Regions from separate parts of the Homo sapiens genome. Here all the other regions are linked to region 5. Evidence: promoter capture Hi-C in human tissues and cell types (Jung and others, 2019). All regions are on one chromosome and are shown on one strand. The core of a region is centred on a gene start or on the middle of the fragment in contact, and the rest is flanking DNA. Distances in the headings are between cores, read along the strand shown. Region 1 overlaps LINC02568 (long intergenic non-protein coding RNA 2568). Region 2 has its middle 57 kb from the start of LINC02568. Region 3 has its middle 37 kb from the start of USP3. Region 4 overlaps USP3 (ubiquitin specific peptidase 3). Region 5 holds the start of RPS27L (ribosomal protein S27 like). Region 6 overlaps TLN2 (talin 2).

Region 1 (4,447 bases), core at 1,772-4,271, 270 kb after region 5:
TAAAAAACAGACTCTGAGACAAAGATACAAGTAGTTTATGTGGGACGTGGTCTCAAATGTTTGACAGCAAAATATGATACTAAGGAAGAAGCCAACAAGCCACAAGTTGTGTTCTTGTGGTAGACATGGATGTGCTGCCCAGATTCCCCTTCAGGAAGCTGCAGGGGTTGGCATCGGCAGAGGGCCTCCAGCTGTCAGCTCCCCCAGGGTCTGCCTCAGCCATAGACAGCAGCCTCACCCAAGGTCATGCCCACTCCAGGACAGCCCACAGCCAGGGACTGAGCAAGGCGGAGGTATAAAGACCCAGCCATTTGGGTCCACCACGAGACACTCTAATGGGTGCTACTGTACTTGCTCCCCAGCTCCCTGCAGGTTGGCCAAGGCTTTATCAGGCCAGCGTCACAGTTCTCCTCCTCCTTCTGCCCAGTCCTGTGTTCCCCCATTTCCTTTTGGAGGTGTTGATTCCTAATAAACATCTTACATCCCAAATTCCAGCTCAGTTTCTGCTTCTGGAAAACCTGGCCTGAGATGATTATCAAGGAAGTTACCACTGTGGGCAGTGAACAGCAGCTTAATCCTGCTGGGAAATTCTAGGAGGCAGTGTAGAGTGAGGCCTCAGAGTTATCCTCCCTAAGGAGCAAGGGAGCTGGGGTATTTATCTACCAACTTCCATCAGTCATTGGTGAGGGCTATTCCTGGGGGCTGTTAAATCCCAGGCTTTTGGGCCTGCTCCATGTAGCAACAGATCATGCTCCAACAGTCAAGAAAGCCCGTGGACAATGATGTGTGGGTGCTGGCAGTGGGAGCCAGAGAAATGCTGAGTGCTCAGAGGATATAGGCAGGCAAGACACCAACAGAGATTGCTACATTCACAGAAAGGAATATTAAACAGCAGTGATGATGAATTAGCTATTTGCATCAATATGGATGAATCTGTCTGCGGCCATACCACCCTGAACATGCCCAAACTTGTCAATATGGATGAATCTCACCAAAACAATATTGAGTGAAAAAAACAAGGTTCAGAAGAATCTAAACAGTATTATATAAATTGGAGAAAAATTTAAAACATGCAAAACAAGAATATTTTTAAGAAAGATACACACACACATACATATATATAGCAAAAGTAGAAAAATACGATGAACAGTAAATTCAGGAGAGTCATAGTATCAACAAAGAGGGAGGGATGGAATGGAATCAGGAATCAGGAGGAGGCCTTGACTACATCTTAAATGTTTTAAATTTTTTGCTGGGTAGAAGTTACACATATGACCATTATATTATATTCTAATTTTTTTTGTATGTCCAAAATTTAAAAAAATAAAACATTGTAATAAACAGGCCAGACTCAGTGCCTCATACCTGTAATCCTAGCACTTTGGGAGGCCAAAGTGAGAGAATCACTTGAGCCCAGGAGTTGAAGACCAGCCTGGGCAACAGCGAGACCCCATGTCTACAAAAACTTTAAAAAATTAGCCTGGCATGGTGGCACATGCCTGTAGTCCCAGCTACTTGGGAGGCTGAGGAGGGAGGATCACTTGAGCCCAGGAGTTTGAGGCTGCAGTGAGTTATGATTGCACTACTTCACTCCAGCCTGGGCAGCAGAGTGAGAACTTAAAAATAATTATAATAAACAAAGTAAAATCTTATTTAAAAAATTCAAATGATCTGAAAGACATGAGGATTGGCCATTGTGAAAAAAAAAAGACTTGTTTTGTTTTTAACTAAAAATAGCATTAAGGATATTTTTAAATGTAAAAACTCTTTCATGACAAGGGTATAAGAAAATGTGATAGGCGCTACCACTGGAGAGCTGAAATACTTTCAACTTCACTCTTTTTTTTTTTTTTTTTACTTTTATGTTAGGTTCAGGGGTACGTGTGCATGTTTGTTACATAGGTAAACTTGTGTCATGGGGGTTTGTTGTACAGGTTGTTTTGTCACTCAGGTACTAGGCCTAGGACCCAGTAGTTATTTTTTCTGATCCTCCCTCTCCTCCCATCCTCCACCCTCTGATAGGCCCCAGTGTGTGTTGGTCCCCTCTATGTGTCCATGTGTTCTTATCATTTAGCTCCCACTTATAAATGAGAACACACGGTATTTGGTTTTCTGATTCTGTGTTCATTTGCTAAAGATAATGGTCTTCAGCTCCCTCCATGTTCTTGCAAAGGACGTAATCTCATTCTTTTTATGGCTGCATAATATTCCATGGTGTATATGCACCACATTTTCTTTATCTAATCTGCCATTGATGGGCATTTAGGTTAATTCCACGTCTTTGCTATTGTCAACAGTGCTACAGTGAACATACATGTACATGTGTCTTTATGGTAGAATGACTTATAGTCCTTTGGGTATATACCCAGTAACGGGATTGCTAGGTTGAATGGTAGTTCTGTTTTTAGCTCTTTGAGGAATCGCCACACTGCTTTCCACAATGGTTGAACTAATTTACACTCCCACCAACAGTGTATAAGCATTTCCTTTCCTCCACAACCTCACCAGCTGTTATTTAACTTTTTAATAATAGCCATTCTGACTGGTGTGAGATGGTATCTTATTGTGGTTTTGATTTGAATTTCTCTAATGATCACACCTTTTTTATTGTTTGAATTGTTTTTAACATGAACAGGTACTGCTTTATTGAAAAATGAAAAGCACCTGTAATTCTATCAACCTAACACCACTATTTTCATTTTCATTAATCCATTTTCCAGACCTTGCTCACATGCATACACTCTTTGCTAAGTTGCAATCATATCACACATGTATTTTATACCGTTTACACTTAATCATATATGATATGTACATAAACGTTTCTCCATTTCTATGTAGTCTAAATAATCATCTTTTCTTTTTTTTGAAACAGGGTCTCATTTTGTCACCCAGGCTGGAGTGCACTGGCACAATCTCTGCTCTCTGCAGCCTCAATCTCCCAGGCTCAAGTGATCCTCCCACCTCAGCCTCCCAAGTAGGTGGGGCCACAAGCATGCACTGCCATGCCTGGCTAATTTTTGTATTTTTTGTAGAGATGAGGTTTCATCATGTTGCCCAGACTGGTCTCGAACTCCTGGGCTCACATGATCCTCCCGCCTTGACCTCCCAAAGTGTTAGGATTACAGGCGTGACCCACCACACCCAGCCTAAAGAGTCATAATTTTAATGGTTACATAATGTTCTGTCTTGTCAATGCACAGTAGTTCACCAACCATTTCCTTATTTGAGATATTTATATTGCTTCTAAATTTCAGATATTGAAATAACTTTTTGATAAATATACTTGTGGAGGTTTTTATGTTAAATATAGCCTTAGCAGAAACCCCACGGGTGCAATTACTAAGTCAGAGGGTGTGTCTTTGCCCTGCAACACACAAAGCTTTCCCTTTGATGACGATTGTTTACTTAAAGCCCTGGGGACTCCCAAATGCCTGGGAATCTTCATTTTAGACTTAACCTATTTTAGGCTTGGTTTTGTTTTACTGCATTCTCAGGAGAGCAAAGGAGACAGCTGGGAGCAGATGGGCAAATCCCAGTTTGCCCAAAGAAATGTCTATTTTCCAAGGGGCATGAAGAATTTAGGAATAAAGCAGATCTGATTTCTAATTCTGACTTTGCTACTGGCAAATTGTGTGGACTCAGGAAAGTGACCGGCCCTCTTTAAGACTCAGTGTGCTTACCTCTGAAATGGAGCTGTCAATCACATCTGCCTCACAGGCTTGTTCTGAGGATGAAGTGAGAAAATGCCCACGAGGTGCTGGTTGCAGCAGCTGGTGCATAGTAAGTACTCAGTGGATATGAGCTGGTCCTAAGTAAGGTCAGCAAAAACGCTCTTCCCACAGACCCCGAGAAAGCAGAGTCCTGAATGAGGGGCTAGGGGAGTTGCCTTCCAGCTGATATTTCTCAATGGCTGTAATGCTGGTGAGAATTAAATAATTGGAGGAAGCAGGGGGAGAGAGAGAATGGAAAGAATCTTCTCTGGAACTACCAGCCTGTATTCTTTGCATTTCCATATCTAGCATGGAAATGAGAGAAAAACTGATGTGTATTGAGCAACTATAATGTCCCAGGTGCTTCACGTGCATTTTCTCCCCAGGCCTCCCTGCAGGGGTGAGGGAAGACTGCAAAGGTACAAGAATGGATGTTGAGGCTGTCCAGGCATCTCGCGTCTGAATGCGCGAGATGCTAGCCCTGCATCTCCCAGCTGGAGAACTGCACTCAGTTTGTCTCCTCATCTGTAAGTTGGCGAATGATCATTGTGCTGGGAATAAATCATTTTTATAAAGCGCCGGGCACATAGTAAGCACCGGCAGTAGCTATAATGAGCAGCTTGCCCCAGGTCACCCAGAAAGTGGCAGCACTGAGACTGGGGCTGGGTCTCCTGCCTCCGGAGCCCACATTTTTTCCACTGAATCACATTTACCTCTATACAAATGCCCATGGTCCG
Region 2 (4,432 bases), core at 1,624-4,123, 290 kb after region 5:
TTAAAATACTGATATCCAGTAGACCTGCCTCCCAGAGATTCTGACTGAATTAGGCAGGTGGGGTCAGGGCTTGGGGATTTTTCAAATCTTACTAGTTGATTCTAACATGCAGAGGGTTGAAAAATCACTGCGCCAAGCCTTTGGGGGAGCTCTTCTTGTAGAAATACCTTCAATGTCTGTGGCACTTTCCTTTGAAGCTTTTCAATGGTAAGAAATCTTCCTTTAAAGATCAGTGGGATTTTTGAAGAGCAGCTAAAAGTTATTCAGAACTGAATCTGCTGATTAAAAGTGAGCCATCCTTCTTTGTCCAAAACAAAGTGAGATGCCTGAAGACGTGTGTCTGGGTTCCTTGTGGGGGTCTGAGGTGGTTTCAATGGCAATAATTCACTAAGCGTCTGCTACACACCAGAAGCTTTCTGGAGCTCACGGCTGGTTCTAGGTATCAGTGGGGACCAGGATTCAGGCCTCCTTGAATTTCCTGCCACTGGGGCTTCCTCAGGCTGGTGTCCATTTGAGAAACTTTGCCTATGTCTCTATCTCCATGTGGAGTCGTGGCCTCAGGACCTTTGCTTCTGAGGCAAAGATGCTCTGGGGCCAGCTTCTCACCAGGCTGTATTTGATCCCAAGATGCAGCCTGGGGTTGAGGGTGAGTGACTGCCCCGTTCCCTCCTCTGTGCCCACAGGTCCTGCTCAGCTTGCTTTATCTCTTGATGGAGCAGTACCAGAAGCAGGTTAGAAAAAGAATCAAGTGTGAGAGAGGAACAAAGCTCTGAGACAAAGAGAAAGGGAGCCCATGACCCAGCAGCCTTTTGTGGGAATACTGTGCCCTCACCACTAACATGATGTAGCCTTAGCAAGAGTCTGAGCAACTCTAGACCTCAGTTTCCCCAACTGTAAATAAGGGAGATTAAAATGAGGTGGGCGCAGTGGCCTGTAATCCCAGCACTTTGGGAGTCTGAGGCGGAAGGATGGCTTGAGCTCAGGAGTTCAATAACAACCTGGGCAATAGAGAGAGACCCCATCTCTACCAAAAATTTAAAAATTAGCCAAGCGTGGTGGCACATGCCTGTGGTCCCAGCTACTCAAGAGGCCGAAGTTAGAGGATCGCTTGGGCCCAGGAGGTCGAGGCTGCAGTGAGTTGCAATCACACCACTGCACTCCAGCCTGGGTAACAGAGTGAGACCCTGTCTCAGAATAAAATGGATGAGCTTCAAGGTCCTTCTCAGCTTTACGATGCTGTGATTGTGAGATGCTATAGATCTGAATTTTAAAAATCAAGACTAGATGTTAAGATACATGTATTACAACTCTGGCTTCTGCTACCCAGGGGGAACAGCAATGGGTGGGCACAAAAAGTGGCACAAAAACATTGTGTGAAAGTCAGAGATGAATCTTGATGGCCCGTGTTTTGTTCTAGATGTACCCACGTGAGACCTTCCCAGAAAAGGCTGGGGACATTCCCATGATGCCAGAGTGAAAGAAATGTCTTTCTTTGATGCCATTTATGTAATTATCGTCATGTCTGTGGTGGTGGTCGTTGTGGACGTAAGAGGAAACCATTCTGGGTGGGGAGGCCTTTTGCAGGTACCACCTAGCAGCTCGATTGTTTCAGGTGGAGACAAGACTTGCTCATTAATCCTCATGCTTCTGAGGAGGCCTCACCACCAGAGGAGGTGGTGGGGCTGATAATGTGGGCCTCATGAAACAGTGTAGCTTCATGCTGAGAGTGGAGTCCATCAGCTCTATGTTTCCGATCTTGGTCTTGCCATCTACTAGCTGTGTAACTTTGGGCAACTATTTCACCTTTCTGAGCCTTTATCACTGGAAAATAAGTGGGGATAGTATCCACCTTGCAGAATGTAGGGCAGTTTAGATACCACAATGTCCATCAAGCACTTGGCACATAATAAATGATAATGGCACAGTAGCTGAAAAAGCACTACAACCTCCAGGTGTTCTGCCACTTAGGCGATTTGAATCACCTGCACTATTTATTGCAGCATCTACCTAGCAAACCTCATGCCAGGTGAAACTAGCCATTTACCTGGGAAAGGAAAGCTCCCCAAAAAGCAAAGGCAACTGCTCATGGAAGGAGAGAGGGATCCTCAGAGCCAAGACTTCAGGGTCTAGTTCCTGCTTTTCCTGCCACCCTTTTGACAAAGCAGGACTCTGCTCCCCATCTTTGGGGGCAGAAGCACTAAATTACAGCCTTCCCCAAAACATCCTAGCAAGAACATAATATAGATGCAAAGCTTCATTGTAATTCCTAAACCCAAATTATTCAAATGCGGGCTAGAGAACAGCCCAGCATAGGAGGACCTGGCTGGAGGGTGCCCACGTGGTCTCCTGGAAGCCTCTGGCTGACAATTCTAACCCCAGGCTAAATGCATAATGTGCTTATTATACATTTAAGTATATTGCTGATGTTTTGAACAGACAGCTTCAACAACATTTCGGTATGTAGCTATCATTAAGGAGAGTTTTTAAAAATAAGATCCTTTGTACTTGGGGGGGTGGGGTGGTAAGGGAGAAAGGGTATCAACATGATGCTGTAATCTGATCTTTTTAGCTTTCAAATGATGTCACTTAATGACTTGGACCTAAATACACTCAGGAAGCTTAGGCAGCCCCAGTGCGCAGCTGCCTGTGTTGGAGAGGATCTGAAAGTCCTGCCTATCCTGGAGTGCCTTCTTCACCACTTTGCACCAGGCCTAGGGTTGCCCCCATTAGTTACTCTTTTGGGTCATGGTCCCAAAGGGAGAGAAGAGAAGGGACAGCAGAAGTTAGCTTTGTTAGCTCACTTGACATTGGAATCACCTGAGAGCTTTAACAAATACTGATGGCTGGCCTCACCCCCTGGAGAGTCTGATAATTTGTCCCAGGTGCAGCCTGGGCATTGGAATTTTTTTTAAAGTTCCCAGATAACTCCAATGTGCATCCAAGGTTGAGAATCATTGCCCCTGTGCCCTCTCACCCCAACACTCAACCCTCACCTCTCCGTCTTCTTCTACTGCAGCCCTGGTCAGTCCAGCAAGCCCTGGGGCTGAGCAAACACAAATAACTCCACTGCGAGATAGGGATCGTGATCTCCATTTTGCAGATGAAGAAACTAAGACCCCAGAGAGTCTGTTACACAACTTTGCCCAAGGTCACACAAGTAATTAATAGCAGACTAGATCTCTCTGGCTTCAAACTGGTTCCCAGTTCATCGGGCTGCCTTGATAACTTGGGAGCATTAACTCATTAAGCTGTTAATACATCAGAGGATTTCATTTATGGTAATAATGGCCCCTTACATTTTTATGGAGCTGTTAGGGTTCACAAAGCACTTTCATATACTTTGACTTTTTTTAAGCATTATTCCTCCATTTTATTATTTTTAAAATTTATTTTAGGTTCTGGGATACATGTGCAGAACGTGCAGATTTCTTACATAAGTAAACATGTGCCATGGTGGTTTGCTGCACCTATCAACCCATCACCTAGGTATTAAGCCCCACATGCATTAGCCGTTTGTCCTGATGCTCTCCCTTCCCCCGCCCTCTTCCCCCACATATTCTTCCGTTTTAAAAATGAGGAAACTGGAGCCCAGAAACATTGTCTTCCTCATGGTCACAAGATAGAGGAACCAGAATTTGAGCTCAAATCTTCTTACTCCTCATTTCAAAGAAAGAAGTACAATGAGAAACTGGGAGCCTGGTGGGTGTAAATTTTTTGGATGTAGGGAAGATTGAAAAGTTTCAGAGCAGGGCAAGATCTCAGGTTCTCCAAAGGTGGGAACTGAAGAGACATCAACACCCAGGAGGTGCAGAGAGAGAGAGACTGTGGTCCAATGTTAACAACTGGTGAATCTCATCGAAGGGTATACAGGTGCTTGTTGTATGGTCTTTGCAACTTTTCTGTATGTTTTCAAATTTTTTAAATAAAAGGAAAAGTACGAGTAGTTTTAGAAATACCCAAATAGGGCCAGGTGTGGTGGCTCACGCCTGTAATCCCAGCACTTTGGGAGGCTGAGGTGGGTGGATCACAAGGTCAAGAGATGGAGACCATCCTGGCTAACACAGCGAAACCCCGTCTCTACTAAAAATACAAAAAAGCCAGGCGTGGTGGCACGGGCCTGTAGTCCCAGCTATTCGGGAGGCTGAGGCAAGAGAATCGCTTGAACCGGGGAGGCGGAAGTTGCAGTGAGCCAAGATTGCGCCACTACATTCCAGCCTGGGTGACACAGCGAGACTCCATCTCAAAAAAAAAAAAACAAAAAAAACCCCAAAAAAACCCAACAAATAATATTCAAGGTGAGCTGTGAAGAACCAGAGAAAATACTTTTTTTTTCTGAAACTTGGCTGTTGTTTCTAAAAGCACAAAAGTTACTGAATTGTTTGCCTATGTTACTGCAGAAGTGGGAAAATATTGTGTCAAGTAAGCACTGTAC
Region 3 (4,488 bases), core at 1,637-4,136, 310 kb after region 5:
TTAACCACAATATAAACAGACATTTACACAAGAGCAATTATAAATAGCACATGTGCAAAAAAAAAAACCTGCCTACTGGCATCCAAAGATATGCTGCAGAAAGCAAATTTGGGACTCTATTTAAAAATCTTTTCAAAAATGCCTTGAAGCAACAATATTCAATGTACCTGATGTTGCAGCAAAATTGATTTACTGATACAATATTGGTGGCATTCGAAATTAGTAATAGTTCCTTTGGGAACTAATATGGAAACACATAGGAAGAACTATATCCATGATTATTCAGAAGTAATGCAATAAAAATCTGCATAAAGAGGCCAGCACAGTGGCTCACGCCTGTAATCCCAGCACTTTGTGAAGCCAAAGCAGGAAGATCACCTGAGGTCAGGAGTTCGAGACCAGCCTGGCCAACATGGTGAAACCCCGTCTCTACTAAAAATACAAAAATTAGCCAGGGGTGATGGCGGGCTCCTGTAGTCCCAGCTACTCAGGAGGCTGATGCAGGAGAATAGCTTGAACACGGGAGTTGGAGGTTGCCGTGAGCCGAGATCACACCAACGTACTCCAGCCTGGGCGACAGAGCGAGACTCCATCTCAAAAAAAAAAAAAAGCCTCCATAAAGAAGTCAACATCAACAATATCTATTGTAGCAAAAAAAAAAAAATACTAAACTTGAGGGAATTGCTATATAGATTTTGATACAGCCACACATTTGCCTCTTATACAGCAATAAGGATAACTGTGCAGATTGATAGCAGTGTAGAGATGTTTATTATCAGTCAAATACAACAAACTTCAGGATCACATAGGCATTATGATTATAGCTCTGCTAAAAGTGTGCATACGCATCTGAAAGGGCTGGAAGGTATTGAAATAAAATTGGCTGTAGTGTTTGAGAGGCAAAATAGTATGGTTTAAATTACTTTTAATTTTCTGTTTATCTCCAACTAAATAAAAGAAAGCATATCAGTTGAAAAAGAATTAACCTTATCACCAATGTTTCCCACTAGACAATGAGAGCAGGAACCCTGCCTGTCTCTTTCAACAGCGTTTGCCAGAGCATGTGTCTGCCACATGGTAGGCGCTCTGTAAATATTTGTGGACTGATTGACCACTGCTGTCAGCCTCTCTGAACCGGTTTAGTAAATTGCTGATATAGACCTCCTGTTTTCACAAAGATCCTTCTTGCCATCACCTCCACAGTCTCAAAAAGCACCTTCATTTACAAGCAGGCTTTCAAAACCCAGCATCTTCCTCTCTCTCAGTGTCACTGGCAGAAGGAGGACATCACCTTAAAGTACCAGACTCTAGGGCCAGCCTGTGTTGGGAGAACCCCCCCGCCCCTTCTCTTGCAGCTTCCCCCGGGGGGGACAGATCTTCATGGGGACACAAGGGAGAGTAGCTTGATCCCTAAATCATCTGGACACTAACATTTTGCACCAGAAGATGGCAGTCTACACACCTCCTTATGGTGCAGAACCCACACCTTCCTTGACACTTTGACAGTTAATTGTTCAAGTCAAGTTACTCAGCCTACCCTCCACAAAGGTGGGCCAGGGTGAGGGTGTGACAAGGATGGCCAGGGCCTCAGGCCAAGATCAGGAACAGATGTAGGCAACTGATGCCTGCTGTGCCTGATGCTGGGAGAGATGGCACCTCCCACGTTTCACATTTCACAGCTGGGGAAACCAAGCTTCACAGAGGCTAAGACACTGCCAAGTCCCCCACTCCTAGTAGAGAAACACTGCCCAGACCCGAGCCCCGCTCTCCTTACCCAGCACCCACCCTCCTTCCACCATACCGTACTGCCTGCCAGCTCTCCAGCAACAGGAGTCTGTGAAAAAATGGGCAAGGATGTTTCTGAACCCATGGTTAAATGCTTTTAAAAATCACCATGTCAAATTATAAAATTGATCAAACCCTTTGACCTTGGAATACCACTTTGGGAAATATGTTCCAAGGAAACAAAATATGAAATACATATTTATAAATAAGTTTATAAAATATAAAAATGAAACAAAAGCACATATAGAGTTGTGTAGAACTGAGCTTGATACTGCAGTTAAAACCAGAGGCAGCCCAGATGCCCGACCGTGGGGAAAATTGTGCCGTGGTCATTATACTCACACTGGAAATGGCTGTCATGCAGATTAGCACCGACGTCCAGCCTGTCACGTGGGGACTGTTATACTAGTTGTTAAAATAAGTATTTTCATACCAACTGGTAAATAGTAGAGCCAGAGTGTCCTCCAAGCCTCCCTTGCCCCTCTACTGGGATCCTCCTGAACTCCCCCTGATCTAGCAACTAAATAGTAAATGCCTGGCCCAGCAGCCTCCAGGATCCCACATGAAGCAGTGGTCAATGAACATCTTAGTACTAGTTATTAGATATTTTTTAAACCTCCCCTGGCTAAGATTCTGTATACTCATGGAAAAGCGACCTTATTTTGGAATGGGACAAGATATAGGAATATATAAAGAAAGACATTATGTGACTTAACGGTAAGTAAAAAGAAGCAGAAATTAATACAAGGAATAGCAGTGAGGCAAATTTTATTTGTATAAACAAGAGTTTCTAAGAAGCCACAGAGTCTAAATATTTGGTAAACTAGGAGAGGGGAGATTTGAAAAATTTTGTCAGTAGCCTATTTAACAACCTTTCCCCTATTTCCTTCTTAAAAGAAAGTTGCACGGTGGCTCACACCTGTAATCCCTGCACTTTGGGAGGCTGAGGCGGGAGGATCACCAGGTCAGGAGATTGAGACCATCCTGGCTAACACGATGAAACCCCATCTCTACTAAAAATACAAAAAATTAGCTGGGCGTGGTGGCGGGCACCTGTAGTCCCAACTACTCAGGAAGCTGAGGCAGGAGAATGGCATGAACCCGGGAGGCGGAGCTTGCAGTGAGCCGAGATCACGCCGCTGCACTCCAGCCTGGGCGACAGAGTGAGACTCCGTCTCAAAAAAAAAAAAGTTGCAATTTTGTTCACTTGCCTACTCTTCTGATGACCAAATGCTTTGGGGAAGGTTGAGCTCAGAGGTAGTCTGGAGTGGGGTAGGGGTGTGAGTCCAGAGTGCCTAAGCCAGGCATAGTGGCTCAATCCTCTTGCCAAGTATGGATTTAGGCATGGGCTGATGATATAGTTCTGGCAATGAGGTGGAAGGGAAGTCAGCCTGGAGGATTCTAGCAAGACTTTCTTTGCTCATATAAAGGGACAATGACAGGAACATCCCCTGTGTTTCCTTTGAGGATGTCTTGCTTAAAACTAAAGCAAACACCTTGTTGACCAAAGGAGAAGACTAAAAGAGTCTCAGAGAACCCAAACCTTAGCCATGACACCTTTGAGTCACTAAATTAACCAACCTTGAAGCTACTCTAATGCTAGCCTTTTTCTTGTTGAAATGACCTTAGCTGGGTTTTCTAGTATTTAGAATGTAAGCTGTTTATTCACTATTATAGCCCTGTTATCTATAACACCATCTGGTGCATAGTAAGCCCACCATAAATATTTGTTGAAGGGATAAATGAATAAAAAGGAAGGAAAAAATGAATCCTTGCTGATATAGAAAGGTGTTAAGTTTCTTGGTCATCTTGGTGTTAGATTTTTCTGTTTCATTAAAAAAAAATATTCATTCAAAGCATTGCATGATGTTGACTAGGTGTATTAGTTCCAGGGAATTAGTGTTATGGGAAGTGGCAGACAGATCTGGATTTGAGTCTGGATCTGCTACTTACCAGTCAAGTGTTCTTAGGCAAATTATTCATCTTCACTGAGCACACCTGTAAAATGAGGATAAATTATGGGGTCGCTGTGAGTCTTAAATGAGAAGCAACCACAGAGCTGGGCACGTGGGAGGGGCTCTGTAAGTGTTCATTCCTCACCTTCCAACATTCTAAGTACTCAGGTACCATGATGCCAGGATGAATCAGGCCGAGTCTCTCTTTGACCTTGAGAAGGATTTCATGGGCCAGGGGGAGGACTCAGACATAGCAACAAATCAGCCACGTGACCCACATTAACATCACGGGAAATGGAACAAATTGACATCACATACCTCCTGATATGACACACTGAGATGAACAGAGCATTACCTCTGGGATAGTTCTGCCAAATTAGTACAACAAGAACTCATCACAAGGAAACATCAAACAAACCCAAAATGAGGTACTTTCTACAAAATAACTGGCTTAGACACTTCAGAAATGTTGTCATGAAAAACAAAAAGGAGGCTGGGTGCAGTGGCTTATGCCTGTAATCCCAGCACTTTGGGAAGCCAAGGTGGAAGGATCACAAGGTTAGGAGATCAAGACCAACCTGGCTAACACGGTGAAACCCCGTCTCTACTAAAAATACAAAAAATTAGCCAGGTGTGGTGGTGGGCGCCTGTAGTCCCAGCTACTCGGGAGGCTGAGGCAGGAGAATGGCGTGAACCCGGGAGGCAGAGCTTGCAGTGAGCTGAGATTGCACCACTGAACTCCAGCCTG
Region 4 (4,803 bases), core at 1,828-4,327, 380 kb after region 5:
GGATTACAAGCATGTGCCGCCATGCCCAGCTAATTTTGTATTTTTAGTAGAGACGGAGTTTCACCATGTTGGTCAGGTTGGTCTCGTACTCCTGACCTCAGGTGATTTGCCTGCCTCGGCCTCCTAAAGTGCTGGGATTAACAGGCATGAGCCACCGCTTCCAGTGCTATTTTTTTTTTTTTTAGTATCCTTTAAAAAGAGGTTGGCAACAGGTTCTGTTCCCTCTTTGTAATATAATATTCATGTCTATTTCATATAAATGACAAAGTAGGTATCTATTTTTGTGACTACTTAGAACTAGGTTATTTAGGTTGTGAGTGATGCTTAATGATCCATATCCATTTGGTTATGCTCAGAAAGTATATTCTGCAGTTTTAACTTTGGTGTGAAGCAAATTTCTTTCTGTGACTAGTAAATTATGATGAACAATTCTTGTTTTAATCAGCTTTCCCTTGATTCAGAAGGTTGTTGACATTAAAGGAGGGGATATAAGCCATTTAAAGGATCACTTTGGAGATATTTTTTATTGTCAGACAGCCCTTGAATGTTACATGAAGGCATTACTGGGTAGAGATGGGGATTTAGAGAAGTCCAGATAACAATTTTAATTTACTTTCTACTGAAATGGTGTGAGAATCCTTTCCACATTGTCCTTAGTCGATAATTGTATGATAGGAAGGTGCCCATCAAAAGGAAGAAGAAAGGGTCAGTGGTTTGCCAGGTCTTTTACTTTTTTTTTTTTTTTTTGAAACAGTCTTGCTCTGTCGCCCAGGCTGGAGTGCAGTGGCCGATCTCCGCTCACTGCAAGCTCTGCCTCCTGGGTTCAAGCCATTCTCCTGCCTCAGCCTCCTGAGTAGCTGGGACTATAGGCACCTGCCACCACTCCCGGCTAATTTTTTTGTATTTTTAGTAGAGACAGGGTTTCACCGTGTTAGCCAGGATGGTCTCAATCTCTTGACCTCATGACCCGCCTGCCTCGGCCTCCCAAAGGGTCTTTTACATTTTTACAGGTTCAACACCATTAAATTTTGGCTATTGAATAGACATCTTAAGGGTTATTCATTCAGATCACTACTGTTTTTAGTGATCCTTTGTGTGGAAGATGTCCAGACCTGGAGAGAGAGAAGCTAGAGGTAGGTGAAGATTTCAGTAGAAATGAAAATCTTCCCAAGATTTTTACACAAAGGTTAGTGCTCAGTTTATTGTTATTTGCTGTTGTGAAACACACCTACCAAAGTTAAGCATTAGCCAGGCAGTTAAAGCGTTTGCATTCCCCTTTCCCTCAGGTTTTCTTTTTTTTTTTCGCCCTTTCCCTCAGGAAACTTATATACTAGAGTGATGTGGCTACGTAATTTGCAGAACTGTGTGTTTCTGTGTGTTTGTATTTCTGCTTTAGACAACAGAAATTAATATAATTCTTGAAGTATCTGTCTCACATTGTCATGGGTCACATCATCCTATAGTACCAGATACTGAGAACATTGATTTTTGATTTTCAGTTAGCAATGTGAGTGAATTGCTTAATGGAGGACTTTGGAAATACAATTAAATCGCTGTGTGCTATAACAAGTTTGCCATTGTTTTCTTGCTGTTGGTAAGATTCTGAGGAAACTAACTGTTAAAGAAAATTTTAAGAATTATCTTAATGGAATGGAATTATATTCAAGGCCCTTTAAAAATGTAGATTATATATTTTAATATCTTTATACATTGTATTTTAGGGGCATATTTTATTAACTAGAAATGGGAATTGAATTGGTTTTATTTCGCTATGGTCTGCTAAAGTATATGTCGTTTCATGGTGGAATTGGAATTAAATGGAAAATCTTGAACCTTGGGGAGTATACACTATGATGGAGTCTTCTTGGCCGATTGCCAGGCTTTTGTGTGAAGTTGTACAGAGCTGCAAGTGTGTGGACACCCAGAGCTGCTGAATTCAGGAAGGGAGCTGCAGCTGGTCACATTGTCGGCTCACTTGTGGGTTTTAGAATAAAATGCTAGGGAATCACCCCGTAGCATTACACTGATGGCCTAAAAGAAATCTGTGATAGTTGTAAATTGACGAAGATGCAGTTTAAATTAACATTCCTCCCACACCTCACTGTGATGAAGAAACAGATTTCCTATTTCTGTGTGGAGTGTGTGCATGTGTTGTTTCCTCGTGCCCGTTAGTAATTTTACTTCAATTTATTAATTTTCCTTGTACACTAATTTCTTGTGGTTAGACTGAATGATTGATTTCAGAGGTAAAACATTGGTGCATTAGGTTTAACATGTTTGATTATAAATATCTTGACTAAAGTCAAAGCCTTTTTTGCAGTGTGCTCTGTGCCCTAGAGAAGTTATAACATACTCTGAGGCTTGCAGTTCTTCTTTCCCTGCTTTCCCCTTGCCAATAGTCCCTGCCCTGTCCTATGTTTGCAATCCTTTATGAAGTTATCACTGAACTCTTCTCTTTCCCCAGCTCCAGTTGTAGCTGAATGTAATCTTTCCTGAACTCACAGCTCTTGGAATACTTATAATTTCATGCTGCATGTTAGTTATTTGTAAATGTCCTTGGAGACTGCAGATACCATATCTCAGATCTTTGTATTTTTCCCTAGTATGCAGTGTCTGGTGCAGAGTAGGTGACATACGTTTGAAAGACTGAATTTTGTTAACTGTCTTTCAGAAATGGGGAAGGTTACATCAGATCTATAATACTGTGTCCCCTGATCATCTTGAAGGACTAAAGAGCCACGTAACATTTTTCCTGCAGACAACTTAAATCATGATATAGGTGAACTACTTCATTTCCCTCCCAAGATGGACACCCTTGTAGAGCAGTGCCCCTCCACCTTGATGTAAACAGGAGCCCAGAGAGGAAGCATGCATTAACCAGGCAGAACAATATAAATCAGGTTACTGTTCATTAAGAGAGAAAGCAGTGCGAAAAGGAATGATTCTGATTTGACACAAACCCACTTCTTAAGGAGATAAGCACATTAACTTGAAAATGAAAGGTAAATTAAGATTTCGATGAAAATAAAAATCTTCCCAAGATTTCACACAAGAGCTAGTGTTTAGTTTACTGTTTGTTAGGTAATATTTCATTTGCTCCCATCCCAATTTCCCTCCCTTAACCAATACAAATGGAATTGTATGTGGTGTACATTATTGTGATTGAGAAGAAACAAAGATTAAAATTAGGAACTTTGGTTTTTTTATGGAGGTAGACCTTTGTATTTAATAGATTTAAAATACTGAACCAATAATTTTTGACATCTGACATAGTCTTGTCAACTTCGATATCCTTATCAATAATAGCTGAATTTTTGAGAATGAAGAATTATGAAAGGAATATTAAAAGTATATTCCTTCAGGGCAGGTAATGTTTTAAAGCATCCTTTCAAATGAAGAAATATTGTGAAATATGAATCAGTTGTCTAGAAAAGAGGCTTGAATTTCAGATTTTAAACACTTGTAATAAATGGCAATTTTAATTAAAATGAACATAAAGCTTTATTTGTGAGTTTAAATAGATAATGAATCATTTCCTACAGCAGTTGTGATTAAAAATTTTAAAAAAGGAAAATATTTTGTTGATGTTCTTATAAACGATTTGGACGCAAATTTTCAATGTAAAAAATTAGACAACAGGGAGAGTTTTGTTTATTTAAAAACAATATTTTGAAGTTTAAGAAGAAACTTTCTAATAGAGATAATCTTAAAACATAAAAGGCTCTTCCTTAAGATAAGCTGGTACTTGTCTGCTTTTAACAAAGGATATGGGTTTGCTCTGCAGGTATTCTTCTAATTTTCCATAATTGGCTTATTTGATGGCAATACATCAGAGTTTAGTAAGAGAATTTAAAAATGCTCTTGCTTCCTAAGCAAATTCTTTTAGATTTTAACCTTTCTCAGTTTGAAATAGGTGAAGTCACTAGAATATCAGCTTGCTTTTTCTTTTCAGTATTACTGTCATTTATAATAAAACCAGATGTCAAATTTGCCCGTAAATATCAAAATGTCTTAGAAGTGAATGAAAAGGAGCTGGTGAAACTTAATGAAGGATCTGTCATGTGTCAGGGGTGTTTGTTGCATAAGAGGTTTTATTTATTTATTTATTTTTGGTATTAGTGTTATGCATGGCTTACTGTATAAAGATAGCTTTGTTGCCAGTAAATTAAAGGACTTGTTTCTTTACTGTTGCATAAAAAATGTTTTATTTGTATGATTATTCCTCCTTGTTTCAGATGAGTGAAGAATGGTTTGCTTTGGGAATATTTTCTTAGTTCTTCAAGGACATGATGTGGAAGTCATGACTTGAGTAACTTCAATAGCACTAACAACAGGAATTGAAAAAAACTTAGAATTTTAAAGCTGAGAAAGAGGTAGAGATTTTTCTCTGTCTTGGGTATGACATATATGTTATTCAGTATGGTAGCAATTGAGCAATTGAATGTGGCTAGTGTGAAGAATTAAGTGTTTTTTATTTTAATTAATATTTAAATAGCACCATGTGACTGCTAGCTACTATTGGACAGTGCAGCCTCAAACTATTAAAATTTAACATTAAGTATATTAATGTTATAAACTTTCAAAACCTTAAGATAGAAATCTAACAGAAACTCCAAAAACAAAATAAGCCAATTTTACTAAATAAAATACTGTAGTTGGAAATAACTATAACTTAAAGCAAATCTAACCCAGTAAGCTATCAAAAAGAAAAATTATATAATTACCAAGTAGAGTTAATTTCACCTGAGTTCTATGAACATATTCATTATTAAAGGAAACCTCAAATTATTGTCCCATTGGAAG
Region 5 (4,787 bases), core at 384-2,883:
AGCCACATGTGTAACATAAACTTTTCTAGCAGCGACACAAAATTTTTTAAAAACAGGTAAAATCAATAATATATTTCATTAAACTTAATATTTCCAAAATATCATTTCAACATGTAATCAATGTATTTTTTTTCTGTGCTACATCGTCAAAATCCAGTGAGTATTTTACAATTAAAGAACATCTCTATTTTGAGTATCCACATTTTGATTATCCACAAGTGCTCAGTAGCCACATTCAGCTAATGGCCATTGTATTGGGCAGCACAGCTTTAGACTGAAGAATCAACAGACTTTTCTTTGTATCATGAAACAGAAAACTCATCGTCTGAAGAGCTTAAAGACTTGCTAAGTCAAATGGCATATCTCCTTTGAATGCCTGTTTTCACTTACCCCGAAATGTTTCTACAATGGTTTCAGTACATTTATTATGAAAATGTCCCTGACATTTCCAATTCTGTAATCCCACTTCTACTCAACAGAGGGTTCTAATGTATCTTAACTATACACACCACACTAGCAATCCCTACAGAAATTTTCTTTAGTAAAGGAATTAAGATTTCAAATTTTACCTGGACATTTTACATCCATAAAGTAAGAATTTGGACTTTGTACTAGGCGTTTCTTTTTATGTTTTTTCTTTTCCTCTTCCAAGGACGGATGTAGTAAATCTCTAGCCAACTGAACAAAGAAGCATATTATTACTATTAGTTTTAAACCACAACGCTGGCACATTTAACCATACGTGAAATATACATGCAAAAACAGGAATAACGGTCATCCTCGGCAGAAGCAACACGTCAGATAGTAAAGTTATTTTTCGAAACCTGTTAATAACTTTCATCAGTACTTTTCATAATACTTGTGTTCTCCAAGTCCCTAGAAAAGGGCTTTCGCACGATCAGGAAACATATGGTAAGGCAAACTTTGTCCTTCTTTACTCAACTGCGTAATGAACTGTCTTCGATGAAAACTGCGCGAAGTCGAGGTGCTAAGCAAAGAAAGTGACCCCGACTGTGGACTCGCTTAGAGTAGAAACTGCTGAAGTAGACCAGACAACGTCAGCGCCTGGGTGATTTTTGCTCCTGTGGCTCAACAGCTGATCTGACAGGAATTCTTGCTGAGCGACCGTCCTTGACGGAATTAATATATAAGGCAACAACGAGGACAGTTTTTAAAAAAGGAAAACAAGTAGGAAATCGCTTCCGAAAGAAGGCAGAGGGGGCGAGAAACACCAATCACTGGGAAAGCCAAAAGACCCAAAGATCACAACCTCAGGGGCATCCTCAAAGACCAAGACCGCTCATAAGCTACACAGAGAACTGTTCCCCTCCCAGCCACCGCCTCTGAATTGCAGCCCACGCCCCTGCAGGGCCAGCCGCGCCGCGGTGACCGGGCAAGTCACTACATGCCCGCCACGCGCGAAGACGCTGCGCAACCTGAGCCGCCTCGCCACTCTCGGACACTACAGGCCCGAGAGGCAGCCGGACTCATCCGTCCCATATGACTCTCGGTAAAGAAGCCCAAAACAAACCCGGAGCCCGATGTAAACAACTCACAGGCATGTTGATCCTCTTGCAAGCTCAGCCCTACCAGACCTCCCAGCCCACACAGCTAGCAAGCTGCAAGCGATCTGCGCTCGGCATCAACTTCCGGGATAGAAGCTGCTGGGAGGAGCGGCGGGGCGGGCTTGTCTGCTCTAGGCCCTCCTCTCGGTGGTAGGGGGACGCCGCAGCAGGGTACTCGGGTCCAGGGCGCAGGGAAGACCCGGGGATGGTGAGCGTTCCAGGGTGCCAAGTCCCGTGGGTCTAACGGGCTTGTTGGCGAGCGCCGCGGGCTCTGCAGTGCCTGAGGCCAGAATCTGGCTGGGGAGCGGCCTCGGGCTTAGGCCATGGCGAGGGAGCGCCCGCGGCCACCGGGGCCGGCGCCACCCCGGAACCCGGCGGGCCGCTCAGCCCCCGGCCCCCTGGCCCGGCCGCTCTCGGTTAGCTCTGGGGGTGGGCACACGGGGCAATGCCACTATTCTCTTCTTTTGTGTATTAAAAAATACAGTATTATTAACCATTAATACGTGCCAGAGAGATTATGAAAGAGGCTCGTATCCTTTTGGCTTCCCTTTTCAAGGCGCAGATTTCGAAGTTTTCTGCGGGGTATGGCTGTGCCTTAGGTTTGCTTTGTTCTGAAAAAAAGTTTTTAAAACAGCACGGATTCGCTGCTGTGCCTCATTCACTAAGAGGCCCCACCCCTTCCGAGGATTACTCGTCCTTTGCAGAGTGGACAACTAGGGGGCCTGAGAAAGGCGAATGTCACCGATGACCGAACATGAGTCTTTATCATTATTATTATTTGAGACAAGGTCTCGCTTTTTTGCCCAGGCTGGAATGCAATGGTGCCATCACAGCTCACTGCAGCCTCGACCTCCTGGGCTCAAGCGATTCTCCCGCCTCAGCCTCCCGAGTAGCTGGGACCACAGGAACACGCCATTATTCTTTTTTTTTTTTTTTTTTTCCTTGGAGACAGGGTCCTGCTATATTGCCCAGGCTTGTCTCCAATTCCTAGGCTCAAGAAGTCCTTCCACCTCAGCCTCCCAAGTAGTTGGGACTACCGGCGCGTGACAGCATGCTCTATTTTTGAGGAGGAAACTCTATGCTTGAAAAATGGGTGTCATGGGCGACCAAAAGGCAAGAAACCAGAAAGACACTTTACCAGAAAATTGGTCTAACTGGATTTTTTTTTTTTTTTTTTTTTTTTTTGGCAGAGTCTTGCTCTGTCACCCAGGCTGGAGTACAGTGGCGCGATCTTGGCTCACTGCAACCTCCGCCTCCTGGGTTCACGCGATTCTCCTGCCTCAATCCTCCCAAGTACCTGAGATTACAGGTGTCCATCACCATGTCCGGCTACTTTTTGTGTTTTTAGTAGAGACGGGGGATGGTGGGGGGGGGGTTCACTATGTTGGCCAAGCTGGTCTCGAACTCCTGACCTCAAGTGATCTGCCCGCCTTGGCCTCCCAAAGTGTTGGGATTACAGGCGTGAGCCACCGCGTCCCGCCCTGACTTGATGTTCTTAATCACCTTATTTGTCTTTGCAAAAAGGATACATGTATAATATACATTTTGGGAAATGCAGAAAAATAGAAGAAAATTTACCATCTGTAAATAAACATTTTTAACTTTTGACCTATATCCTTCCCAATATTTTTTACTCTCTTGGATATAGGTTTATTTTGGGTTTTGACTTAACCTAATTGGGATCATCTTGTGCATAATCTTTTGTAGACTTGAATTTTCCTCCCACTTACTATAAAATGAGCATCACTCCATGTCACTACATATTCTTTTTTTTTTTTAAATAAGGTCTCACTGTGTTGCCCAGGCTGGAGTGCAGTGGCACAATCTTGGCTCACTGCAGCCTCGACCTCCTGGGCTCAAGCAATTGTCCCCCCTCAGCCTCCTGAGTAGTTGGGACTGCAGGTACAAGCCACCACGCCTGGCTAATTTTTGTAATGTTTGTAGAGATGGGGTTTCGCCATGTTGCCCAGGCTGGAATATTCTACATTATGCTTCTTAATGGGCATATAGCATTTGTCCTGTGACTATATATATTTTCACTTCAGCCATACACTAAATTGGGCATTAGGTTTGGGTTTTTAAATATTTGATACTTAAAAATTAATAAAAATTGGTGAATATTAAATATTTAATGTATATAAGTATATAGAATAATACAATTGTATACACAGAATAGTGGCCCCCAAAGACATCAGTGGCCTAATCCTCAGAACCTTTAGTTACATGGCAAGTGGAATAAAGGTTGCTGATTAGCTGATTTAATCTAGAAGGAGTATCCTGGATTATCTGTGTAGGCCCAGTGGAATCACAAGGGTTCTTGAAAGTGGAAGAGGAAGACAGAAGAGCGAGAAGGAGATGTGGTAATGGAAGGTCTGAGAGGTGCTATGTTGATGGCTTGTAGATGGAAGAGGGCCATGAGCCAAGGAATGTGGGCAGCGTCTAGAAGCTGGAAAAGGCAAGGAAATGGACTCCCTCCTGGATCTCCCAAAGAGGGACACAGCCCTGCCAACATCTCAACTTTAGCCCAATAAGACCTGGCTCAGACTTCTGTCCAGAACTGTAAGATAATAAATTTGTCTTGTTGCCTGTAATTTCAGCACTTTGGGAGGCCAAGGTGGGCAGATCATCTGGGGTCAGGAGTTCGAGATCAGCCTGGCCAACATGGTGAAACTGCGTCTCTACTAAAAATACAAAAATTAGCCGGGCGTGGTGGCACACACCTGTAGACACCAGCTACTTGGGAGGCTGAGGCAGGGGAATTGCTTGAACCTGGGAGGCAGAGGTTGCAGTGAGCGGAGATGGCGCCAATGCACTCCAGCCTGGGCAACAGAGCGAGACTCTGTCTCAATAAATAAATAAATAAATAAATAAATAAATAAATAAATACATTTATGTTGTTTTAAGCCATTACATTTATGGTAATTGATTACAGCAACAATAGAAAATTAATGCAATAAATGAAGATCCATGTACCCACTACCTAGCTCTGTCAAAGCTTAACATTCAGTACTCCCTCCCAGCAACTTTTCATTATTAACGCTACAATAAACATTTTTATAGATACGTTTTTGTGTTTGTCCTCATTCCCTTAGGATAAATTCCTGGAGGAGGAATTGCTGAGTCAAAAGTTATGCACATTTTAAGGTTTGTAATATAAACTGCCAAATTACCCTCCAGAAAAGCGAAACCAATTTATTTTCCAGATATAAATGTATGTGAATG
Region 6 (4,344 bases), core at 491-2,990, 420 kb before region 5:
CCTTTTATCCCTCCCCTGCAAAGCAGAATGTCTCATGGGGTGTGCCGTCTGTTCCCCACAGCTACCTCCAAGCACGAAGCCTTTCCAGGAAGCCCAGAGTGAACTGAACCAGGCAGCAGCTGATCTGAACCAGTCTGCTGGGGAAGTGGTCCATGCCACCCGGGGCCAGAGTGGAGAGTTGGCTGCAGCCTCTGGAAAGTTCAGTGATGATTTTGATGAATTCCTCGATGCTGGCATTGAGATGGCTGGCCAAGCTCAGGTGGGTGTGGAGGTGGTTGTCTGGAGTTGACCTTAGCCTCTCCTCTCGGATGGATAATCCATCCTTGAGACTGACTGAACAAATAGGAAAAGGAACCTGGAAACAGGCAGGCCATGGTTGCATTCTTTTTGCTGCTTAGGAAGCTCATGCCCTCATGGGAATGGCATTCCCAAAGATGCTATCAGCTTATGCATGAGGTGCTGTTAGTAATAAAGAATAACTTCTCCCACGATCCTCCAGCAGAATTCATAGTCTTACTATTTGGAGGGAGGGTAGGAGGAGGGAGAATGTTTAACAAAGATTAGAACAGCTCTTCAAATGTGGGATAATACAATAAAAATATATATGTATTTGAGGTTTAATGGACCATTCAGATGGTCTGTGTCTAATACAGAGTGTCAAGTGATTAAAAATTACCTCCTTCAGATGAACAGATAAACCCCTTGTTTAGAACAAGGGAGCTTGACTGATCTGGTGTCAGCTTGCAGAGCTGTGTTTTTTGTTTTTTTTTTTTTTTCTGCGCTCCTTTGACCTCCCTAAAAGAGATAACCAGGGTGTATCTTCTTCTAGTATCTACAAAGAATTGTTTCTCAGATGGCAACCGGGTGAGAAATGTGTGCTTTCCCGAGTCAGGAACTTCAGGGATGCAGTCAGCTCTGAATATCGAGACAGTGCTGGTCGTTTGTGCCAGGCCGAGATGTACAGCTCCTTGACAACTCCAGCATTGTTGAGCAAGATGCTGGAATCGCTGCCTGGTCTGTGCATTGGCTCACAGCTCGCTCACTCTCCTCCCACCCTGCTCCCCGCTTAATGCCTCTAGTTGTGAGAAAAGCACAGCTCTTGGCTGACCCACTTGGGGATGGATTTCTTTCCCTGTGGCATGCATCTTGATCTGAGCATCTGTTTGGAGAAGGGTAGACACTGGTCAGTGTCTCAACGAGTTAGGCATCTGCGGGCTAACTGGGTTTAATGTGATCTATACGGATAACCTGCCTGCATGTCAGGATGCTGCTCCTAGCTCTCTGAATGCCTCCTTCAAGAAATGGACAGGCCCTAATAGCTCCGGCTCCTTTTGACCTTCCAGACAAAAGAAGACCAGATCCAAGTGATAGGGAACCTCAAGAATATCTCGATGGCATCCAGCAAGCTGCTGTTAGCTGCCAAGTCTCTCTCTGTAGATCCAGGAGCTCCCAATGCGAAAAATCTCCTGGCTGCAGCTGCAAGGTAGGAGTGGGACACAATGTGCTTTCGTGTGTGGTTAGACAGTGTCATTGCAGTCTGAAGATGTGCCTGACATCCTCCCACTTTTGCTGAGCAAAAGAATTGGTGCTGTCCTTAGGTCATGGGAGGTGGAGCTGAGAGTGATGGACACTCTGATATTTTATAAAACTGGCTCATTTCCATGTTCTTTCCCCACTAAAAATATCTTCTGTCTTCTCATACAGCCTTTTCAGTAGAGACTTGTTTAGACGTAAGGTCCATTTTGACTTGTAAATGCAATGAATTAAACAGATTTTTTTTAAGTAGCATTATATCTTTCTGATTATAAAATAGTATATATGCTTCTTGAAACATCAGAAAATACTGAAAAGCGTAAAGATGAAAAGCAGTGCTCATCAAGTCATTCAGCAGACTTTTATTGAGCACTTAACCCTGTGCCTGGCATCAGTGTTAGATTGAATGTAACATGTTGTATCTGTCACATGGGGAAGGCTCCACTTTAAGATGAGTAGGGAGGCAGTGGGAATAAATTGTTTTTGGAAATATATTAAAACATGAGTGTGAATTTTGGATGATTTGGGTGTCCTTCTTTCCTGTTGGTTTCACCCAGGGAAGTGGATAAAACAGTATAGTTTCTGCTCCAGGGCCACAAGTTAGTTCAGTAACTAGTGGTTGAATGTGGTATGTGGAGCACTGCAGTGACAGCCCAGGGGGTTCTCGTATCAGCAGCCCCTCTTTCATTTTCCTGAACCCAGAGAGTAGGGTGGTCATGATTCTGTGGTGGTGCAGGCATGTTTTTTTAGCATTATTTACCATCATATTACGTATAAGAAAGCTGACAGTGGAGAGAGATTAAAAGCAGGACTATTAGGGGATAGAGAGTAATTGGAGGCCTTTTTATAATGTGCAGATTCGTGATTTTTGAAAAGCATAGCTTTGATTCTGCTTTCCTTTTTTTAACTTGGTTTTTTAAAATTTGCGCGTGTGTGTGTGTGTGTGTGTCTTTATGTCTCCCCTGGGAGATCATTGGCTGTTTTTTAAATTGTCGGCATCAAGAGACCTGAATTATATTCCAAGCTTTAATACTTGACTAACTCAGTCGCATTGGTCAGGTTGCTCAGCCTGTCTAAACTTTCCCATCTGCAAAGTGGGGGTATGAACTACATCATCCTTAAAGCTCTCCTTAGCTCTCAGCACATAAGATCTCATGGTACTCATGGTCCAAACATGTCCTTCCTCCCTCTTGGCTTGTAGTGGGGTGTGTGTGTGTGTGTGTGTGTGTGTGTGTGTGTGTGTGTGTGTGTGTGTGAAGGGTTAGACACTGTCAGAGCAGTTTGCTTGCAAACCCTTGAGTTTCTTCATTTATTCCTGGAAGGTACATTTTAACTGCAAACAATAGCTAGAGCCACTAGGGGACTGGAAAATTATCTTCCCATCTCATGCTTTGTTCGTGACTGTTCTAGTAAATAAGTGACCTCCCTTGATGGTGGGAGAGATGGGAGGTGGGGTTGGGGGTGATGTCTGTTCTGTTGAGCAGCTGTTTCTGATAGAAAACCCCCTCTTGATCGTTGCTTTTTTTCCTACAAAGGAGCCTTTGGATAAGGCAACTGACATTTCCAGGTATCAGAACTCAGATGTTTTTCATTATCTTCAATTTTTTGCATCATTTCAAAATTACAGTTTCCAGCTTGGAATGGCTTCACTCTCCTAAATTGTGGGAAGGAGGGGGAATGTATAAATTGCCCTTTTGAAAGCCAGATATAGAAGGAAACAGAGCCGGAAAGAATATTGCTGGTGTATGGCTCTGTGAATAGGTGCAGGCCCCCTGGTGGTGGCTTCGAAGAAAGGACATGGGGAAAAGGGGAAAAAAAAAAGCTTTCGTTGCCTTTCTGTCCTGGCTTTTAGCAGTTGACGGAGAATTCCCAGCCTGGTGATTTCATAGCCAGGTAAGCACTTAAAAATCATCACATGAAAATGATTGTCTTGGGATGGAACTGTTGCGAGAAAACGCTGGCACATTCTCCTTGGTTTTTTGGCACATTTTGGCAAGCTTCTGCTCCCTGGGGCTGTTTCTCAGCAGAGACTCCAGCCAGGTCAAGAGGGTCAGGCAGGCTCCTCTTGGGACACAAAGCTCTGCCAGGCTGGGGTTCATTCATTCATTGTCTTATTCATTCATGTCTTCATTACATAGATTTTCATCACAGGCCTGATGTGGGTGACGCCCAGTGCTGAGTGCACACTGTGAATAAGACAGGGCCTGTCTTATTATGTGTGTCTTTATATCTTGTGTATTTATAACCCTCATTATGTGGCCCTGGTGGAGTTAGGCAGGACTCACCACATGCTCCGCTCATTTCATCTGGGCCTAGAACAGTCCTGCATAAAAGTGCACAGGAAGCTGGGCAGAAGGGATCTGATCATCATAGTCTCAGTCCTCAGTCCTCTGTCCTCCTTGTTCTTGAGACTGTCAGGTCCTGCCTGTCCTTCCTGTGTGTATCCTCAAAGTCCCCAGAAATGCCACTGCGGGGACCCAGGCCTGGACCAACTCAGCCCTGTCCCACTCCTGTGTTAACAGTCTCAAACCCCTTATTATTTGTGGTCTCTGTGGTCCTTCTTGCTCTGGGAAGAAAAGGTTTGCTTCTGGAGAAAAAAGTAGAGGATGTCTTTTTCCTCTGTTCTTAATTCTGCTTCCGAGCCTGGGTACGTTTTTGGGACCCTACCTATCCCCTTGGTTTTGGATGCCTAGGGGAGAGGAAGTCATTTGCTATTTAGTGCCTGGTTTGTTCATTTTCTTCCCGTGTAACTGTTTGGGTTCTGGCTCTTTTCTGACAAGTTGGGTGGAGCTGGAGACCCTTTGTCACCCA

Evidence for each region. Contacts are between HindIII fragments. The study calls those that stand out against the background at their distance.
Region 1: a contact is called between a fragment that was not itself captured here and the fragment with the promoter of RPS27L in region 5, in 1 of the 25 tissues and cell types used here (lymphoblastoid cells).
Region 2: a contact is called between a fragment that was not itself captured here and the fragment with the promoter of RPS27L in region 5, in 2 of the 25 tissues and cell types used here (IMR-90 fibroblasts and hippocampus).
Region 3: a fragment that was not itself captured here is called in contact with the fragment with the promoter of RPS27L in region 5 in 1 of the 25 tissues and cell types used here (spleen).
Region 4: a contact is called between a fragment that was not itself captured here and the fragment with the promoter of RPS27L in region 5, in 1 of the 25 tissues and cell types used here (IMR-90 fibroblasts).
Region 6: a fragment that was not itself captured here is called in contact with the fragment with the promoter of RPS27L in region 5 in 1 of the 25 tissues and cell types used here (hippocampus).

Annotation. Positions count from the first base shown.
Region 1 is chr15:63,427,563-63,432,009 of GRCh38, forward strand. It overlaps LINC02568 (long intergenic non-protein coding RNA 2568), which reads left to right. Exons shown (of 7, transcript NR_120375.1): 5 at 3,643-3,780. Among named protein-coding and RNA genes, the nearest start is that of LINC02568, 40 kb to the left of the region's middle. The HindIII fragment of the contact is 3,938 bases long and covers 1,053-4,447 here.
Region 2 is chr15:63,444,883-63,449,314 of GRCh38, forward strand. No RefSeq gene overlaps it. Among named protein-coding and RNA genes, the nearest start is that of LINC02568, 57 kb to the left of the region's middle. The HindIII fragment of the contact is 5,139 bases long and covers 305-4,432 here.
Region 3 is chr15:63,465,421-63,469,908 of GRCh38, forward strand. No RefSeq gene overlaps it. Among named protein-coding and RNA genes, the nearest start is that of USP3, 37 kb to the right of the region's middle. The HindIII fragment of the contact is 6,427 bases long and covers 1-4,488 here.
Region 4 is chr15:63,537,820-63,542,622 of GRCh38, forward strand. The region is part of intron 3 of USP3 (ubiquitin specific peptidase 3); the gene reads left to right. Among named protein-coding and RNA genes, the nearest start is that of USP3, 36 kb to the left of the region's middle. RefSeq lists a silencer at 1,731-2,025. The HindIII fragment of the contact is 4,284 bases long and covers 936-4,803 here.
Region 5 is chr15:63,155,844-63,160,630 of GRCh38, forward strand. It overlaps RPS27L (ribosomal protein S27 like), which reads right to left and starts at 1,634. Exons shown (of 4, transcript NM_015920.4): 1 at 1,557-1,634; 2 at 570-678. The coding sequence starts at 1,562. RefSeq lists enhancers at 374-1,573, 858-947, 1,098-1,757, 1,153-1,726 and a silencer at 1,908-2,007. The HindIII fragment of the contact is 14,496 bases long and covers 1-4,787 here.
Region 6 is chr15:62,739,287-62,743,630 of GRCh38, forward strand. It overlaps TLN2 (talin 2), which reads left to right. Exons shown (of 59, transcript NM_015059.3): 31 at 62-259; 32 at 1,344-1,483. Among named protein-coding and RNA genes, the nearest start is that of MIR190A, 82 kb to the right of the region's middle. RefSeq lists a silencer at 4,273-4,344. The HindIII fragment of the contact is 3,403 bases long and covers 40-3,442 here.